Linked DNA regions of Homo sapiens: all the other regions are linked to region 3. Evidence: promoter capture Hi-C in 16 types of primary human blood cells and fetal thymus (Javierre and others, 2016). All regions are on one chromosome and are shown on one strand. The core of a region is centred on a gene start or on the middle of the fragment in contact, and the rest is flanking DNA. Distances in the headings are between cores, read along the strand shown.

What was found. The method cuts DNA at HindIII sites, captures the fragments that hold promoters and counts their contacts. A CHiCAGO score of 5 or more calls a contact.
Region 1: a contact is called between the fragment with the promoter of GUCA2A here and the fragment with the promoter of ZMYND12 in region 3, in 1 of 17 cell types (endothelial precursors). The highest score is 11.3, in endothelial precursors.
Region 2: a contact is called between a fragment that was not itself captured here and the fragment with the promoter of ZMYND12 in region 3, in 1 of 17 cell types (monocytes). The highest score is 6.2, in monocytes.

What each region holds. Positions count from the first base shown.
Region 1 is chr1:42,162,926-42,166,358 of GRCh38, forward strand. GUCA2A (guanylate cyclase activator 2A) reads right to left here and starts at 1,820. Exons shown (of 3, transcript NM_033553.3): 1 at 1,713-1,820; 2 at 478-685; 3 at 1-45. The coding sequence starts at 1,787. RefSeq lists an enhancer at 1,680-2,644. The HindIII fragment of the contact is 7,781 bases long and covers 1-3,433 here.
Region 2 is chr1:42,818,780-42,821,915 of GRCh38, forward strand. All of the region lies in intron 1 of ERMAP (erythroblast membrane associated protein (Scianna blood group)), which reads left to right. Among named protein-coding and RNA genes, the nearest start is that of SVBP, 3.0 kb to the left of the region's middle. The HindIII fragment of the contact is 5,658 bases long and covers 1-3,136 here.
Region 3 is chr1:42,454,354-42,457,737 of GRCh38, forward strand. ZMYND12 (zinc finger MYND-type containing 12) reads right to left here and starts at 1,669. Exons shown (of 8, transcript NM_032257.5): 1 at 1,535-1,669. The coding sequence starts at 1,644. It overlaps PPCS (phosphopantothenoylcysteine synthetase), which reads left to right and starts at 2,190. Exons shown (of 3, transcript NM_024664.4): 1 at 2,190-2,720; 2 at 2,894-2,997. The coding sequence starts at 2,213. It also overlaps a transcript of CCDC30 not described here. RefSeq lists enhancers at 1,791-2,020, 2,261-2,330, 2,421-2,540. The HindIII fragment of the contact is 2,356 bases long and covers 915-3,270 here.

The sequences.
Region 1 (3,433 bases), core at 570-3,069, 290 kb before region 3:
CGTAGGCACAGATTTCACATGTGCCCGGGTCCTCAGCGATTTCCTCTGCACAACAGAGATGGAGCCTCGTGAGAACCAGCATTTCCTCGCGAGGCCCCTGCCGCCCTTGGCCCAGAGCTTGTACGTCACCACCCAGCCCCAGGAGAATCTCAGCAGGCCCGTACTCTGACCTACTGGGCTTTTCGCCCCAAACCAGGGCACACAGACCACTCAAACCAACCAATCAAAGCAGAGATTCCACCAGAAAGAGAGGAAACTAAGACCAGATGAATGGTCTTAGTTCCCAAACCTCAGCAGTTACAACTTGGAATTGAAGTGGGCATGGAACAGACCCACCAATCAGAGCCAAGCTCCCTAGTTCCACCAGTCAGAGCTGAGCCCTTCCTCCAAATCCCACCAATCAGAGCACATCTCTTCCTCAAGTGCCACCACAGTATTCCCGAACCCCACCAATCAGAGAGGAAGGAGGCTGCTCACCCAGCCTCTGAAGTATCTCCTGGGCATTGGGCTCCTTGCAGAGAGGCTTGAGTTCTTCTGGAAAGTTCGGGTTGCTACAGAGGATGGGAACCACAGGTTCACCAGGGATGGGTGCAAAGTTCCTGAGTTTCCCAACCCTGGGCTCCTGGGGCTCCTGGAGGTCTTTGAGCTTCTTCACTGACTCCAGAGAAAAGGAGAAATTTCCATCCTGGAAGAGAGAAGCCCAGAGCATGAGGCCAGGCTGCAGCCTGCTTCCTGGCTGTGCCCCCCGTGCTGGCCCCGGTCCAGCCCAGTGGTGCTCACAGGCAGTGTTCGTGGCATATGGGAGCCAGGCGATCCACAGTGGGGCACTGTGAGGGGCAGAGTTCAGGCCCCACGTCCTGGCTTGGCTCCGTGATGCTGGACACTCTGGAACCCGCAAATTCTGCATGTTGTATGGGGAATGGAGAAAATGGGTGTGAAGCTCCAGGAACACCATAGGTGCCTAATGAGTAGGAGCCAGTGTGCTGATTTTTAGGGAGAGGCAAAGGACCAGCACCCAGGCATCGTAGTTCCACGTGGCCAAGCCCAGGCTGTCTTTCCCCTGCCTGAGAGCGGTGCGGCTGATTACTGGGCCCCCAGCTCCAGCCTGCAGCCTGGTTTTGGTTTGAGAAGCAATAAAAGGCCTCCCGGAATCTGGCTTTGATAGAGATCAGGGCCCCCGCTAGGTGCCAGCTTGGCCTGTCGCCAGCATTGGCACTGGTAGGCATACCCATCTGTCAGGACCTCCAGGGTGTCCATGTGGTTCCTGGGACCCACTGAGGAGTAAGGTCTGGATTTAAATCCAGCTCCTGCACTTCCCACAGCCATGTGCCCATGGCCTGTTACAGAACCTTTGTGAGGCTCAGTTTTCCCCTCTGTAAAATGGGACTAATGATCCCTTTCTTCCAGGTTGATAGTGGAGCCACAGTGAGGGGCTGGGGAAGGAGCCGGCACATAGGACACTCAGTAAATTGGCCAACTCCCCGCCTTCCCCATATGGTTATTCCTCTTCCCTCCACTGGGTTTCTTTCTCCTCCAAAGTTGAAGGGAAAGGTGTGTGTGTGGCTGGACTGAGCAGGAGCTCCTCGAAGAAGGCCAAGCCTGGGACACACACCCTCAATCCAGCCCCAAAGAGGAGGTACTCTCTCAGGGGACCAGACCTGGGCACTAGGGGCAGGGAGCCAGCTGGGCCGGGGTAGGGACACAGGACTCACCTGCACGGTGACCCCTCCTGCCAAGGCGGCCCAGGCCCCAAGGAGGCACAGTGCGGAGAGCAGGAAGGCATTCATGGCAGCAGTGCCCGAGAGAGGGGTGGCTGTTCTGGATGCCAGGGGGAAGCGGCGGGACTTTTAAAGAGGGCAGGTTACTGAGTAACCTGGAAGCCTCTGTCAGTCTCATCTGCTCACCTGTCAGGCCTTATCAGATAAGGCTCGAGACAGCCCTAGGAGATAAGAGCCAGGCAGGGGGGGCCCCGGCCCCTCCCTGAGCACCTACTTTGACCCACAGCCGGGCTGGGTCCTGCATTCATTCACCAACAAGGCACATTCACTCACGACTGCCCTGTGCTGCTGTGTGGGGCCGGCAGACCCTGCCCTTGAGGAGGGGGGCCCAGCCCGACAGTGAAACGCAGGGCGATTAGGGTGGGGTGATCCTAGGATGAGGTGACGGGGCTGCACTGGGGGCTGAGCTCTGGAGAATGGGTGGAAGTTTTCCCAGAGAAGGGACTGAGGACAGAAGGCCATTTCATGCCAAAGGGACAGCCAGGAGGTGAGACGGGCCTGGAATATTCAGGGAAATGTGAGAAATTCCACGGGGGAGGCTGCAGGGCAAGTCAGGGTCTGGGTTTGATTGCCGCGACCTCAAGGAAGCCCTCCGCACAGCCTGGGTTCCGTTCCACCTACTGCCCAGTTGTGAGGCGTGTGAACTTGGGCCAATGCTTTCCCCTCTCTGAGTCTCGTTGTCCCTTGTGTCCCCTGTGGGAACCAAAAATAATACCTACCTCATGGGGTAGGTGTGTGGTAGGCATTACTGTTTGGAGAATCAAGTGAGGTTTTAAAAACATTTAGCTCAATGCCTGGCACACAGAAGGTGCTCAGCAGAGGTCCATTCCCATATTATTAGCAGCCACAGCAGCTCCTGGTCCTCCCTGGCCCCTCTGGTGACCTCCTGCCTGTCTGAGTCACAGGCTGTCCCCATCCTGTGCTGGTCCCCATCCTGTCCTGCCTGCCCTGCAGCCTCAGGGTGTCCTCGAATGAGCTCCTCCCCAATCCGCCCGCCCCCCTTGCCCCTGCAGATACAGTCCCCTTTCCGCGGATCTCACTGGGGAATTGCTTGGGTGTGCCCGCGCCCCTATAGACTCTGACCCCATTCAGACTGCGCCCTCAGGGCAGCGTGCATTCACTGTGTGCTGTTGTGAGCAGGAATCCCCAGGACACAGGAGAAAGGGTAGCCCTGGGATTGTCATCTTTCTACTCAGCCAACCTGGCCCGATGCCAGGACAGCCCTAGGGCGGGAGGTTGGGCAGGAATTCCTGGGTGGGGAGAGTCAACACTGAAGAGGGAATTGGAGAGAGCAGGGCCTGACCAGGAGGGAACTGCAGGGACAAGGCCCTCAGGGAGGGGCAGGTAGCTCCTGGCCCAGCTCCCAGGGCAGTCCTCACAGCTGCACTGGATTTCCCACCCCTTTCTGGTGAGTGTGTGTGTGTGTGTGTGTGTGTGTGTGTTAAGGGGGGGTGTGTCTGCGGAGATGTGTATGTCTGTGTATGCCAAGGTGTCTGTATATACCCTGATGGGTGTGTGTAGCCAAGGTGTGTTTGTATGTGTGCTTGTGCTGAAGGTGTGTGTGTGCTGAGGCATGTGTGTACACTGAGGAGTGTATGTGTATATATGCTGAGGTGTATGTGTGTGTATGCTGAGGGGTATATGTGTGTCCGTGT
Region 2 (3,136 bases), core at 304-2,803, 360 kb after region 3:
TTTCTACAGTAAACGTTTATACTTTAGCAATCAGAGGAAAGTACATTAAATGTCTTTTTAAAAACCCTATACAAATGCTGATTCGATTATTATTAATAAAAGTAACCAAGTCAGAGTCTATTTCAGAAATCTTGATGTAGTACTGGTATTTTACATTTGTGTCACATGGTATGGTTTATAACGTTCATATAAGCTATGAACTAGATTACAGCTGAAGACACGGCAGGACCTTTAGAAGCCAGCTAAAAACAAACCAGCTATAGGGAATGGAGGAGTGGAAAAGCCACATGGAAGACTGGAAAAGTAGTGGTGCCACTGAGCCACTGTTGAAAGTGGAGAAGGTGTGATGAGTTGGTTTGGGAAACGGTGAGGAAGAGGATAAGTTAGGAGCGTGTGTGTGTGTGTGTGTGTGTGTGTGTGTGTGTGTGCGCGCGCGCAAGAGAGGGACCGAGAGAGAGAAAGAGCTAGATTACGCTTCAAGTGGCAATAGGCAAGAAGAATTGTCCAGTGAGCAATTAGAAGATTTCAGAAAAGAACGGAACTGGAGATACCAGTTTGGGATTCTACATTCTTTATTGGGAAGGTGAAGGTTGGAGCCAGGAGGGAGTGAATGTTGAGGCTGAACACTGTCAAAGTCCCCTCTCTATTCTTTCCATGAGTTTATGCTTTGTCTGTCTCTTTTGTGTCTACCAGTGGACTCTTGGCCAGGCTGCAGAATTTCCTGGTTTGTTGAATGACTAGCAAGAGTTTATAGTAATATAACTAGAATATTTTTACAGTTGAGGTATATACTACACTAAGATTATATTCACTTTATTGAATAATATTTTTTCTAGAGTCAAAAAATTATCTATTTTTATTTGCTTAATGATCTATGCATCCCTTGTTTATTTTTTATTTTCAGAGGTGGGCTCAAGTGATCCTCCCGCTTCAGCCCCTCAGTGGCTGGTACTACAGATGTGAACCAGGTCATTTACCAGTGTCTTTTTTTTTTTTCTTGGCAGCATCCCTCCTTAGACTCATCCTCTCTTTGCTCCAAACTCCTCTGCTTAGCCTTGCTTCACAGCTCTTGTCCTAGGATTAGGGACCTAACCACATTCTGGGGATTCTCTTCTTGTTTCTCCTGTGCCAAATCCCCTGCTCTCTGGATCTTATGTTTTTCCATTCTTGGTTTATTCTCTCATTTTGGAGGAGTATGTTCTCCACTAACTCCCCAGAAGGGGTTCATGGAAGCTAAATTTTTGAGTCCTTGCTTGTCTAAAAATGGCTTTATTTTCTTTCATCCTTGAGTGACAGATTTCCACATTGGAAATTATTTTCCCTCAGAAGTTTAACGGCATTGATTCATTGTCATCTAGCTTCTCATGTGGCTACTCTTGAGGAGACTGATTTATTCTGACTTGTGTTACTTCCCATATATTTTGTTTGTTAATTTGTTAATTTGTTTAGGATATTTTTCTCCTTTATCCTTGATGTTCTGAACGTTCATAACAAACTGTCCTTTAAGTATTTTTCATTCATTATGCTAAGCACTCGGTGGCCCCTTTCAATTGGGAAACAAAGTCTTCAATTCTGGGAAACGTTCTCTGTGATCAGTTTCTCTTTTTTTTTTTTTTTTTTTAACAAATAGAGACAGGGTCTCCCTATGTTGGCCAGGCTAGTCTTGAACTCCTGGCTTCAAGTGATCCTCCTGCCTCAGCCTCCCAAAGTACTCAGATTACAGGCATGAGCTGCTGCACCCAGCCAGTTTCCCTGTTTTTAAATTTTTCTTCATGTTCCATTTCCTGGTTTTGTTTATTCTAATTTACAAGAGATTTTCCTGAGCTGTATCCCCTGGTTCTTCTATTGAATTTTTTCATTTCTGCTACAAAAATGTTAATTTCCAAGAGTTTTTGTTTGATCCCCGACTTTCCTTTTTGGTAGCCTCTTGCTCTTATGTTGTGGATTCAGGATCTTCTCTTATTTCATATTTCTGAGGATTCCAGTTGTAATTTTCTGCTGTTTTCTTCTGCTTCCTAGATTGTCTCTGTTGTTTATTTTGGTCTCTGGCTTTCAAGTTGGAGCTTATCCTCAGACAATAACAGCTACCATTGAGTATCAGCCCCTATTTTAAGTATTTTGCATGTTTTAGCTAATTTAATCCTTACAACAACCCCGGGAGGTAGAGCCAGGCCCTGGTCCCTCCCATCCCAAGCCTGGAAGGTTCTCAGTTGAGAATCAGCTTTCTTCTTGCTGATGTCAAGGGTTGATGTCAGGAACCCTTTATCTGATGTTTCCCCCAATCCTGCCTCCCTCTGCAGGCACCTGGGTTAGAGTTCAGTTTTTCCTAGCTCTATTACTAGTGAGCCCTCTGCTTTCCTTCATTAAAGAAATGTATTGACATCTCTATTGCACAGTTACTTACTGTCCTGTTCTCTTTGTCCTTATAGGCTTTTCCTTTTGCACTCCAAGATTGTCATTTTAGATCATTTTGGGAGGTAACAGAGATAAGCATTTGTGTTCAATGAGACATGTTTATTTAACTGGAAATCTAGAGCTCCCTCTTTTTAAGTCAGGAAGCATATAGACCAAAAAAATTACAGTGATTATTACTGGATTCTGAGATTACGATTATGAGTGATATCTTTATCTATGTCTGTATCTGTTTTTCTCACTCATAGAGTTAGAAGTCTAAAAAGAACATTTCAGATAAGAAACTCATTTTATGATGTGATTTAGACTATCTGATAAAATGCTTCTGGAGAAAGCAGTAAAAATATTAATTATGACAAGTTATAAATTGGTACAATTACTTTGGAAAACAATTTAGTATCATCTATAACCTGGCAATACTACTTCTAGGTATATATTCTGAGAAACGCTTTACATTTAAAAATTATTGAGGACCTCAGGGAGCTTCAGTTTATATGAGTTATATTTTTTGAAATTTTCCATATTAAAAATTAAAACTGACTGGGTGTGGTGGTTCATGCCTGTAATCCAGCATTTTGGGAGGCCAAGGTGCGAGGATCACTTTAGGCCAGGAGTTTGAGACCAGCCTGGGCAACGTAGTAAGACCCCATCTCTACAAAAAAATTTTTAAAAATAGCTGGGCTTGGTGGCATGCACCTGTAGTCCTAGCTACTAGGGAGACTGA
Region 3 (3,384 bases), core at 419-2,918:
TACAGCCTAATGAAAGAAATAAATAAATGATTTCAGTCCATGTCCTAAGTGTTAGGATAGGGGACATACTCAGTGCTTTGAGAGCACTGAGGAAGGACACCTAGGCCAGTATGAGAAGGTACTGCAACAGCTTCTTGATCTGTTATGCAGCCGTCAGTGTCTACCTTCCTCTGTATCTGCCACACTGCAGCCCATCCTCTTTCCTTAACACAAATGAGAGCATGTCAGCTCAAAACCATTCATGGTTTCCCAGGAGATAAATTCCAAACCCTTGATCTCATGTCACTGTCTAGCCCTAACCTTTATCTTCTTGGTTTAAACTTCTACTACCTATCACAATGATGTTCCAACTTTTTTTTTTTTTTTTGAGACACAGTTTCACTCTTGTTGCCCAAGCTGGAGTGCAATGGAGCGATCTCGGCTCACTGCAACCTCCGCCTCCCGGGTTCAAACGATTCTCCTGCTTCAGCCTCCCGAGTAGCTAGGATTACAGGTGCACGCCACCACATCCGGCTAATTTTGACTCAACCTATAGTAAGAAATACATTTTTCCTGTACACACACACATGTCCACATAAAACACTAAGACAAAAGTTTTAAGAAACAATTCAGGTAGGATTAACCTGATACTTTCTACTCATTCTGTGCTCTTTTTTGTTGTTGTTGTTTTCTCTAAATGGTGATTGTGACTTATTCATAAACTGCTAAAGGGCCCTGGCCTGCAGTTTGAAAATCACTGACTGCTCCCTCCACTACTACGTTCTCCACTCGGCCCTTAGCAAACTCTGTTCTTTTGCCATTTGCCCTAGCAGTCCCGGATGCCGGGAATGCCCTACCCTTCTTCACTACTCCTGTACACAGCAGGTTCTGACTGCCCTCTCAAAATGCAGCTCAAATGTTTCTTCCACAGGGAAAGCTTTCCACATACTGCCCCATTCACTATCGTCTCACTCTCGTTGCCCAAGCTGGAGTGCAGTGGCGCGATCTCCGCTCACTGCGAGCTCCGCCTCCCGGGTTCAAGCGATTCTTCTGCTTCAGCCTCCCGAGTAGCTGGGATTACAGGCGCCCAGCACCACTCCCGCCTAATTTTTGTATTTTTTAGTAGAGACAGGGTTTCACCATGTTGGCCAGGCTGGTCTCGAACTCCTGACCTCAGGCGATCCGCCCGCCTCGGCCTCCCGAAGTGCTGGGATTACAGGCGTGAGCCACCGCGCCCGGCCTGTTTCTTTACTGATTTGTCTCCCACATTGGAATGTTAGATCTTTGAAGGAACTGATCTACCGAGCTGCCCCAGTAACTTTAGCACCTAAAATAGTGCATAACACAGAGTACGCCTTCAGAAAACATGAGTGACGAATAAGTGGGAGATGAGACAGACGAGGCCACGGGAGTCTTAGGGGCCTGTCTTAAAGCCGTTTTGAGGTGTCCCTTGCAGAGTCAGGGGCAACGGCTAACGCAAGGTACCCAAGCCAGACCCGGGAAAGGGAGAGAGGGAGGGAGTTATAGCGCCCAGGTGCCACGTTTCAGGGCCTACCAGTAATAAGTGACTGTGCAGGCCGCGCACACCCGCTCGGCTGGGGCTTCGCACACCTCACAGCAGAGTCTGCGCCCCTTGGGGACTGCCAGTGGGTAGATCACATTCATGGTGCAGCCAGCAGTGCTGGTCTCTAAGACGGTTGCCCAGCAAGGATACGCTGAACCCCGGCGTCACGTGACGATCGCGGGGCTGCGTACTTGCCAGCATTTCAAGGGCAGAGGGCGGCGGGACGTGACTCGACTAACATCTGGGTGTATTGCTGAAGTTGGAAAAGGGGAAGAAAGAAAGAAAAAGCAGCACAAAACCCACAAGTCCCACGGGTCAAATGGCCGAGAAACGACTCCCAAGGAGTCCAAGTCCAGAAAGGCCCGTACAGTGGCCGGTAAGGGTCAAACATGGCCAGTTCTTCACCCAGGCTAGGAAACGAACGTGAGGGAACGTGACCCTACCAGATGCCCACCCAGCCGGGGATCCCCCTCGTTGCAGTGTCACTTTCGCTGGGCTCTGGGGCAGAACAACTACGCATTTCCAGACTTGGCGAGATCGGGACCTAGTGTCAAAAGAAGGGTAGTGAACCGCCCACTCAGTACGGCGCGGCGCGTACACCAGGTAGGCGAGAAGGGGCGTGGCGCGGCGGCCGCGAAACGTGCGCAGGCGCCGGCCGCTGCGCTGCAGATGGCGGAAATGGATCCGGTAGCCGAGTTCCCCCAGCCTCCCGGTGCTGCGCGCTGGGCTGAGGTTATGGCTCGCTTCGCGGCCAGGCTGGGCGCGCAGGGCCGGCGGGTGGTGTTGGTTACGTCAGGCGGCACCAAGGTCCCACTGGAAGCGCGGCCGGTGCGCTTCCTGGACAACTTCAGCAGCGGGCGGCGCGGTGCAACCTCGGCCGAGGCCTTCCTAGCCGCCGGCTACGGGGTCCTGTTCTTGTATCGCGCTCGCTCTGCCTTCCCCTATGCCCACCGCTTCCCACCCCAGACTTGGCTGTCCGCTCTGCGGCCTTCGGGCCCAGCCCTTTCGGGCTTGCTGAGCCTGGAGGCCGAGGAGAATGCACTTCCGGGTTTTGCTGAGGCTCTGAGGAGCTACCAGGAGGCTGCGGCTGCAGGCACCTTCCTGGCAGTAGAGTTCACCACTTTGGCGGACTATTTGCATCTGTTGCAGGCTGCGGCCCAGGCACTCAATCCGCTAGGTGCGTGCCCTAGGAGTACCCCTTTTGCCTGGAAGCACAGCCTTTCTTTCCAGCCACTTATCCCCTTACCTCCTGCTTACCCACGGATCTCAGCTGGGGAACCCGAGTTGAGAAGGAGCTGATCCTATATCGTACCTCGCCGATTTGTTAACACCTTGTGTTTCTCTTTGCAGGCCCTTCTGCGATGTTTTACCTGGCTGCGGCTGTGTCAGATTTCTATGTTCCTGTCTCTGAAATGCCTGAACACAAGATCCAGTCATCTGGGGGCCCACTGCAGGTGATGGGCGCTTCTCTTCCAGAGATCTAATCCCATATAACCAATCTTGGGTTAATTTCCTCTTGATCTGGAGATGGCCTTTCTGCATCTGTATTCGCTAGGCACAGGGGATACAGAGATGAATAAGACACCGCCCTCCCTCATGGACCTCACAATCTAGTGAGGGAGCTGGACACAGACATAATTACAATACAGAGTGATAAATGCTCTAGTGGAGGTATGTACAAAGTGCAGTCAGATCATGGGGCGAGTGAATCCTGGGGGAGTCGATGAAGCTTCTTGGAGGAGATGAATTGAACTGGGTTTTAAAAGATGAGCAGAACCGAGCGCGGTGGCTCACGCCTGTAATCCCAGCACTTTGGGAGGCCAAGGAGGGCAGATCGCCTG